2 separate regions of the Homo sapiens genome follow, and region 2 is linked to region 1. The links are contacts of gene promoters, found by promoter capture Hi-C in blood cells and fetal thymus (Javierre and others, 2016). All regions are on one chromosome and are shown on one strand. The core of a region is centred on a gene start or on the middle of the fragment in contact, and the rest is flanking DNA. Distances in the headings are between cores, read along the strand shown. Region 1 holds the start of LARRPM (LINC00240 antisense RNA regulating promoter methylation). Region 2 has its middle 29 kb from the start of ZNF322.

Region 1 (4,027 bases), core at 798-3,297:
TGAGCTTAGAGAACAGGTTTTATGACTGTTTTTTGCTTGCTTTCTAATAAATGACTATATATGTACAAAATTTTGTTGAAGATCTTCTATCACTATAACTCGTTGGTATGTTGTAGCTAACTATCCCTTACTTTATACTATAAAGTAAGGTATAGTATAAAGTACTATAAAGTAAGCTGCCTACAGACATCTACCAAAAGCACCCAAAGTTGTGTATCACAAAACTGGCTTAAGCCAGTTCACAAAAATTCTTTATGGCAAAGGTCACCATTTTTTAAACACTGTCTGAAGACACTCAATAATACCTTCAACTGATCAGGAACAGAGATAAAATAATTGAATTAAGGTGCTAAATCTATTCAGAAAAAATATCCAAAAGTTAATATAAGGCAAAAAAAAAAGATATTAGTACTCTTTCAAAATAATACTAGAGCATTGTCTAACAAGCCCACTGAAGGGGCAAGTAATCCTCTAAGTTAATGGAACTTTTGGAGGTCACTATTTACTAATGATTAGAAAATAGATTACAAGGTTAAATGTCATTATGTAGAATATTAAGTTTTGAATGATTTTTACCCAGTAAAGATGCAACTAGTTTCTGTCTTTTAGATAAAAATAATCCCAAAGGCCATAGTTTTCACTGCCTCATAGGACATTAGCTAGTTTTTTACTTAAACTTGCAATCTCATGTCAGCATTATTTTTCCCCCACTGACTATACCTTTACCAGCCTTTTCTATTGCCATTGCAATCAGTTTACCATACTCCTCCTTTTCTCATTAGTGACTTAAATAAATATTTGGTGATTAGTTACTATATATATATTTGAAGATTATGCTTTGATAGCTTTTAAGGTACTCCAGTGGCTTAGCAAGAGCTACAAAGTGAGAAGGTGTTCACTTTATTATCATCTGGTGCATTCCTGAACGGGACCTCGCTAACCTTTCTCAGGAGAGAGTCTGTGAGTGGACAATGTCCAGATACATGCAAGACCCATTTAGGAATACAGATCTCAAGAGAGAGTTATCTGTGCTCAGCTTAATTCCACTCACCTCCGTGTCCCAAGTGGGACACATGTGCTTTCAGATTTGTGGCAATCTTTATAGCTAGGAAAACAACTCCCAATTACTCAGTTCAATTCCCTCTCTTGCTGAAGAGTTGGGAAGCATATGATAAAAGCTATGTCCAGGCAAACTGCAGGTGTCATAGGGAGAGGAAGCCTATTTTAAAGTCAAAATCCCTATCTACTTCCTACCCACCTCAGCCACAACAATATGCTTATTCTTGTAATGCTGTTCTAAAGATTTCAGGTTTCTGGGTCTATTATCACTCATCCTTTTCCAAGTCCAGGTAATTGAATGCCTGAGGACACCAGGTGCTGTTTCTCAGTTGATAGAAGCTGCTAGATCTTCCATGACTGTTGATTTTTATCAGGGTAAAATTAAGTGGGGGAAAAATACTGGAGGGGACACTGTTGTCAGAAATCAGTCCCCCCACACCCCTCCCAATCAGAGCTTTAATCAGACAGGAACCTTTTACTATTTCCCACTTTTGAGTTTCCTTAAATGGAGTTCAATGCTTATCACCTGATGGGAGTTTCTTAGCACTAAGTATGTGCCAGGGGCTCCCCGAGGAACGATGATCGATGATCCTAAGAACAAAGTGGAAAGAAGGATGTAAAGAGATGATGTTCTTTACCTGAGATCGACGTGCAGAACAAAGTGGAGATAGAAGGTAGCTAACTCACTGCGGCGCAACGGATTTTGTTGGTAATTGGCGTTGCTTGGTTCTAAAAAGGCTAAGGAAACCAATAACAATAAACTGTGTACACAATTCCAAACACGTTAAAGACGATGGAGTCGGATTACAGGGGGAAAGGCACTTCAAGTAATGCTATTTTGGGTTGGAAAACAATGCTCCAGGTGAGGCTCGAACTCACAACCTCGGCATCACTCGCACACATACTGCCATATAAGTACCGCGCGCTAACCGATTGCGCCACTGGAGCACCCAGTTTCTACTTCCGGTCACTCCTTACACAGCCTACACAGGAACATCCGGCGTGTTTGCTCTGGTCGTCACAGCACCGGTTCCTCGGGCGCGCGCCCTTAGTCCTGGGGCCGCTTCTCCCCCGGACGCGTGCGAAGGCGGACTGGGTTCCGCTGCGGTCTCCACGGGAGCCACCGGTCCTGAAAGCGCGGAGCATGCTTTGTTTGCGGAAACGAAAGCGAATACTTCTTTCCAAGGAGACTTAGGAAAGGGCAGACGCTCCCACTGCCTCAGGTGTTCCCTGGAGGACCTTCAAGTGGCCGCCGTGTGGGCGGGCTAGCGTCCCGCTGCTGCGCTGGTTCCGGAGCCCTTCCCTTGCCTCTCCCAGGGTCCTTCTCCCAGCGTCGGAGGAAGGCCCGCAGTCTGCGAGTGGAGTGCGGGTGGTGGGAATCCCTGGGAGGATTACGAAATCCTTAAAGTGGGATTTACCAAACGCATTCCTTTCCGCTCACTTCCGTTCCCGCTTAACAAACGTGTTGGAAACGTGTTGCTACTGAAAGGAAGTGGCGCTGGGCTGCATTTTCTGTGGCTAGTCTGCGAGAAACAGCCCTGGAATAGGGCCTCTATTTCTTCCTTGGAGCATCCCTCCCCGGGACCTGGGAGTTGAAACTCTAGGCTAAAGCAACTGAAGCAGGCCCAGGACTGGGTCTCTGAAATTCATGGTGTCTCTACGCTGAGTTAAACTAAGTTTTTCAGAAAATGTCTAACTAGGCTAAAGACCTTGTGCTTCAGAGTGTTTTGAGAGGAGAGTTTGGGGAAAAGGGCTCTCTCTAGAAGGTAAATTTGTATGGGAGATGGGGAGTGTGTGTTTACACGGAGTATCGGGCGTCTTTCTTATGGGTGGACATTGTGGATAAGAATGAGATATTAAGGCAGAATTAGCTGGGCTTTTAATCCCAAACAGTGTTTTAAAAATAAAAACTATATATTTAAGGTGTACAACATGATGTTTTGATACATGTACACAGTGAAATGATTTCTACAGTCAAGCTAATTAACATAATACATCTCTTCACAGTTACTATTTTGTGTAAGTGGTGAGAGCGCATGAAATGTACTCTCCGCAAGTTTCCAATGCACAATGCAGTATTAACTATAGTTATGCTATGCATTACATCTCTAGACTTATTCATCCTATAGAACTGCAACTTTGTATCCTTTGACCAACATCTTAACCATTTCCATACGTCTCCACCCCTGGTAACCACTGTTCTACTCTGCTTCTATGTATTTGACTTTTTTAGAATCCACATAAGAGATCATGCAGTATTTTTCTTGCTGTGTCTGGCTTGTTTCACTTAGCATAATGACATCGAGGTTCATCCATGTTGCAAACAGCAGGATCTTCTTTATTAAGGATGAATAATATTCTATTGTGTGTATAAACTATATGTGCTTTATCCATTCATTGGTGGACAGCCACTTAGGTCGATTCCATATCTTAGTTATTGTGAATAATGTTTCAATGAAGATGGGCATGCAGTTATTGCTTCGAGATCCTGATTTCATTTCCTTTGCGGATGTGAACACCGAAAATTTGAGACACGTTTCAGTTAATTTAGAAAGTTTATTTTGCGAAGGTTGAGGACACACCCCTGTGACACAGCCTCAGGGAGTTCTGACTACCTGTGCCCAAGGTAATCGGGGCACAGCTTAGTTTTATACATTTTAGGGACACATGAGACATCAGTCAATATATGTAAGAAGTACATTGGTTCCATCCAGAAAGGCGGGGACAAAGCAGGGAGGGGGCTGCCAGGTCTTACTTTTGAGTTTCTGATAAACCTTTCCAAAGGAGGCAATCAGAGTATGCATCTATCTCAGTGAGCAGAGGGATGACTTTGAATAGAATGGGAGGCAAGTTTGCACTGAGCAGTTTCCAGCTTGAATTTTCCTTTTAGCTAGTGATTTTGGGGGTGCAAGATATTTTACTTTCACAGTATATACCCAGAAAAGGTACTGCTGGATCATGTGGTAGT
Region 2 (4,027 bases), core at 892-3,391, 390 kb after region 1:
AGAGCAATCTTCTCCACCAAATAAAAACCTAGAAGTTAACCATACAGCAGAGTCAGTTTGGAAAGTAAGTCACAATCTATAGGGTTAAATAAAACCCATCTGATGAGAATTTATGATTTTCAGGGCATGACTCTCCAAACCCCTTAGATAGGAATTTAGGCAGGATAAAAAACTGGAGTTTAGTCCTCACAGGTAATAATCACTAAATTGCAGAATTTTAAAAAACAGGTTATAGAAGTTGATCCTGCAGTTACGCAGCTTATAAAGTGTTGGATTGATTTCAACACATGGCATCCTGGCAATTGTTTTATTTTATTTTATTTATTGTATTTATTTTTTGAGACAAGGTGTGTGTCTGTTGCCCAGGCTGGAGTACCGTGGTGCAGTCTCTGCTTACTGCAACTTTCACCTCCTAGGCTCCAGCCATTCTCCCACCTCAGCCTCCTGAGTAGCTGGGACTACAGGGACAAGTCACCACACCCAGCTAATTTTTGTAGAGATGGGGTTTTCACTATGTTGTCCAGCTGGACTTGAACTCCTGAGCCCAAGCTGAAGTGATCTGCCCACCTCAGCCTTCCAAAGTGCTGGGATTACAGAACTAAGCCACTGCACCTGCCCGCTTTTCTTTTCTAAGCTAGACTTGATGTCATGGGGAATGCCATTCTCTTTGTGAGCTATGCTCATATTTTCATTGTGAGTCTCAAGCAGAGGCCCATATGCCTACTAATAACCCACTTCTCATTGGTCCACATGTTAGTGGCTTGTATTATAGGAATCCCCAAGGATTCTTAAGCTTTGGTCTTGAGAACTCTCATACATTATGTTATTTTTAAGACAAATAGCTACACAGTGTCACGTGGCCTTTCCATCTGTTAGACAAGCCACTTAAGCATTCTTTATGCCATCATCATTGGCCTTTGTAACCCCTATTGATCAGTGCTCAAAACCAGAAAACCATTGTGTGCCCTTTACTCCTTTTTGTTTGAATTCTTAATTTAATTTACTCATATTTTCCAACTTAATTTTATCTCAATTACAGCCCTCAAGAATGAGACTGTATCCAGATACATTGTGAAATCTTGCTCTGTTTTGCTAACGGATAATTTTATTAGGTGATTCTTTCTCACGTTCATGGCATTTCACATTCATGACGTTTCCCCTCCTGGGTTTTATGTGCTGGACGAGTGGGTATAGGATGCATCCCCTCTACAGACATCACGAGCAAATACAGCACCTTCACAGGTCGGGCCCCTAATTCAAAATGAACCCTGGGGCCGGGCGCGGTGGTTCAGGCCTGTAATCCCAGCACTTTGGGAGGCTGAGGCAGGCGGATCACCTGAGGTTGAGAGTTCGAGACCAACCTGACCAACATGGAGAAACCCCATCTCTACTAAAAATACAAAATTAGCTGGGCGTGGTGGTGCATGCCTGTATCCCAGCTACTCGGGAGGCTGAGGCAGGATAATCACTTGAACCCGGGAGGCAAAGGTTGCAGTGAGCCGAGATCGCACCATTGCACTCCAGCCTGGGTAACAGGAGTGAAACTCCATCTCCAAGAAAAAAAAGCCCTGGGATGAAAGCAACTAAAGAGACGATCATTTTGACCCTGTGCTTCATTTTTTCCTGTGGGCTTGATATGATTGTTTCCTTCAGTCTAGGTTATTTTTCAAAAACTGAACCTGTTTTTGAATACTAAGAAGTTCATTGGGGTGAACTTTGCCTTTTTAAGCCCTGTGGTACTTCTTTGCAATGACAACCACCTCCACAGATTTTGGGCATCTGCTTTGAGAAAATGAGAAATCAACAACCAAAAAGAATGCAGTTCAATAATCATAATTCAATTACAAATATAATTATCTCAACTAATAAAGAATAAAACCTGATCATCCAGGCCAGACACAGTGGCTCAAACCTATAATCCAGCACTTTGAGAGGCCGAGGTGGGCGGATCACCTGAGGTCAGGAATTCAAGGCCAGCCTGACCAACATGGAGAAACCCCATCCCTACTAAGAATATAAAATTAGGTGGGCATGGTGGCGCATGCCTGTAATCCCAGCTACTTGGGAGGCTGAGGCAGGAGAATCGCTTGAACCCGGGAGGCAGAGGTTGCGGTGAGCCGAGATCACTCCATTGCACTCCAGCCTGGGCAACAAGAGCAAAACTCCATCTCAAAAAAACAAACAAAAAAACCCTGATCATCCATATTGTCTTGTCCTTAGAAAAATAAATCATAATTCCTCAAGCAGGAAAATAATATCTACTAGTAAGAAAATTAAAATAATTGTTCTGAGTGAAAAAAGCCAATACTAAAGTTTATATACTGTATGATTCCATTTATAACATTCTTAAAATGATAAATTATAGAAATGAACAGCTTAGTGGTTGTCATGTATAAGGGTTGGGGAGTGAGGTAGGTGTAGTTATCCAAGGATACATGATGTATCCATGGGGTGATAGAAATGTTCTGTAGCTTGGCTGTATCATTGTCAATATCCAGGTTGTATGATTGTACTAATTTTGCAAAATAGTGGTTATCATTGGAAGAAACTGGGATTTCTCTGTATGATTTCTTACAACTGCATGTGAATCCACATTTATCTCAACATTTAAAGGTTAAAAATTTTGAAACATTACATTTAAAACGTCTCCTTTGATCATCCTTACTTAAATCTAGTCACTTAATTCCTTTCCAAAGACAGTGTTATCACATTGTCATGTGTCCTTCTACAGACATTTGATACATATGCACATAAAAATATTAAGTAATATTTGGTAAGATGTAGAAATACAGTTGCACAATCTCTTTACACTTACATATATGTTTCCAAGAAAGAGAAATGCAGAAATGATGAGGAGAGATGATATCACTAGGTAGGTGTATATTAACAAATATACAATATATGAAACAATAATGGTAAGTGATTTACACAGAGTGAACAGCCTACTGAACAATAATATCACAAAATTTGAGAGGAAAGTTGTAAGACAAAAGTGTTCTAGTGTCATTCTATTGGGAGAATTGTAAACATGTTGATTAATTTTAATTGTTTAATTATGGGTCTTAAAGTTTTATGACAAATGCAAAAAGTAATAGATATAGAATATAGAGCTTCTAAACAAATGGGACACAAAAATTGATTTTGAAGAAAAAAAAAAGTACAGCCATCTCTCAGTAGGTGCAGCAAATTGTTTCCAGGACCCTGTGGTATACCAAAATCTGGACTTACTCAAGTCCAGCAGTCAGCCCTGCAGAACCACGGAAACTAAAAGTCAGCCCTCCCTGTAGGCAGATTTCACATCCCACAAATACTGTATTTTCCATTTGCGTTTAGTAGGAAAAAAATTCACGTAACAATGGACCTTGGTAATTCAAACCAGTGTGGTTCAAAGGTCAACTGTATAGCCATAAAAGACAAGAAAAAATGAATCATATTTTATATTGAAAAAATATTTTATATTGAAAAGAGAAAACTGAGTTCTAAGCTTGCAGTGGGAAAAGCTAAAAATCAGCCTAAGTTACACCACAGGATTTTCTAAAGACTCAGAAATTTATGACCATAGGTACTTCTGGATCTGAGGGATAATTGGTGAAGGGCTAAAATAAGGAAGAATGTATAAAAGCTCTCTCTCTCTCTTGTCTTTCCAACCCTGGCAGAAAGAGGATGAAACAGATAGTATCTTGAATGAAGGACACAAGGCACAGATGATGTGATGGGTAGCATGGAGTGGGAGGATGGAAATAGAATTATCACACAAATTTATTCATGCTAGCTACAAAATCGTGGCAGTCTTATCCAACTCTACTGCCAGATTTCAGGCTAGGCAGTCCTTAGCTTCCAGGCATGTCATTGAAAGAGTTCTACTTGGTAAATCTGACCAAGTGAAGAGGAGAGCTGTAAAGAAACGAACATCATCAATGCCGAAAACATGGCCCTACCACATTACCCTCTAGTGAAGATCACTGTCAACAAGCCCCACTACATTTTAAATGTTGCCAGTTTTTTTGTTTTTTTTTTGTCTTGTTTT

The links. Contacts are between HindIII fragments. The CHiCAGO score rates a contact against its expected background, and 5 or more counts as called.
Region 2: a fragment that was not itself captured here is called in contact with the fragment with the promoter of LARRPM in region 1 in 2 of 17 cell types (erythroblasts and M1 macrophages); the score reaches 5.7 in erythroblasts.

Annotation. Positions count from the first base shown.
Region 1 is chr6:27,018,326-27,022,352 of GRCh38, reverse strand. LARRPM (LINC00240 antisense RNA regulating promoter methylation) reads left to right here and starts at 2,047. Exons shown (of 1, transcript NR_026776.1): 1 at 2,047-2,987. The region is part of intron 2 of LINC00240 (long intergenic non-protein coding RNA 240); the gene reads right to left. TRI-TAT2-2 (tRNA-Ile (anticodon TAT) 2-2) reads right to left here and starts at 2,007; the gene lies at 1,914-2,007. RefSeq lists an enhancer at 2,043-2,302. The HindIII fragment of the contact is 5,623 bases long and covers 1-4,027 here.
Region 2 is chr6:26,628,328-26,632,354 of GRCh38, reverse strand. It overlaps the pseudogene VN1R14P. Among named protein-coding and RNA genes, the nearest start is that of ZNF322, 29 kb to the left of the region's middle. The HindIII fragment of the contact is 2,691 bases long and covers 796-3,486 here.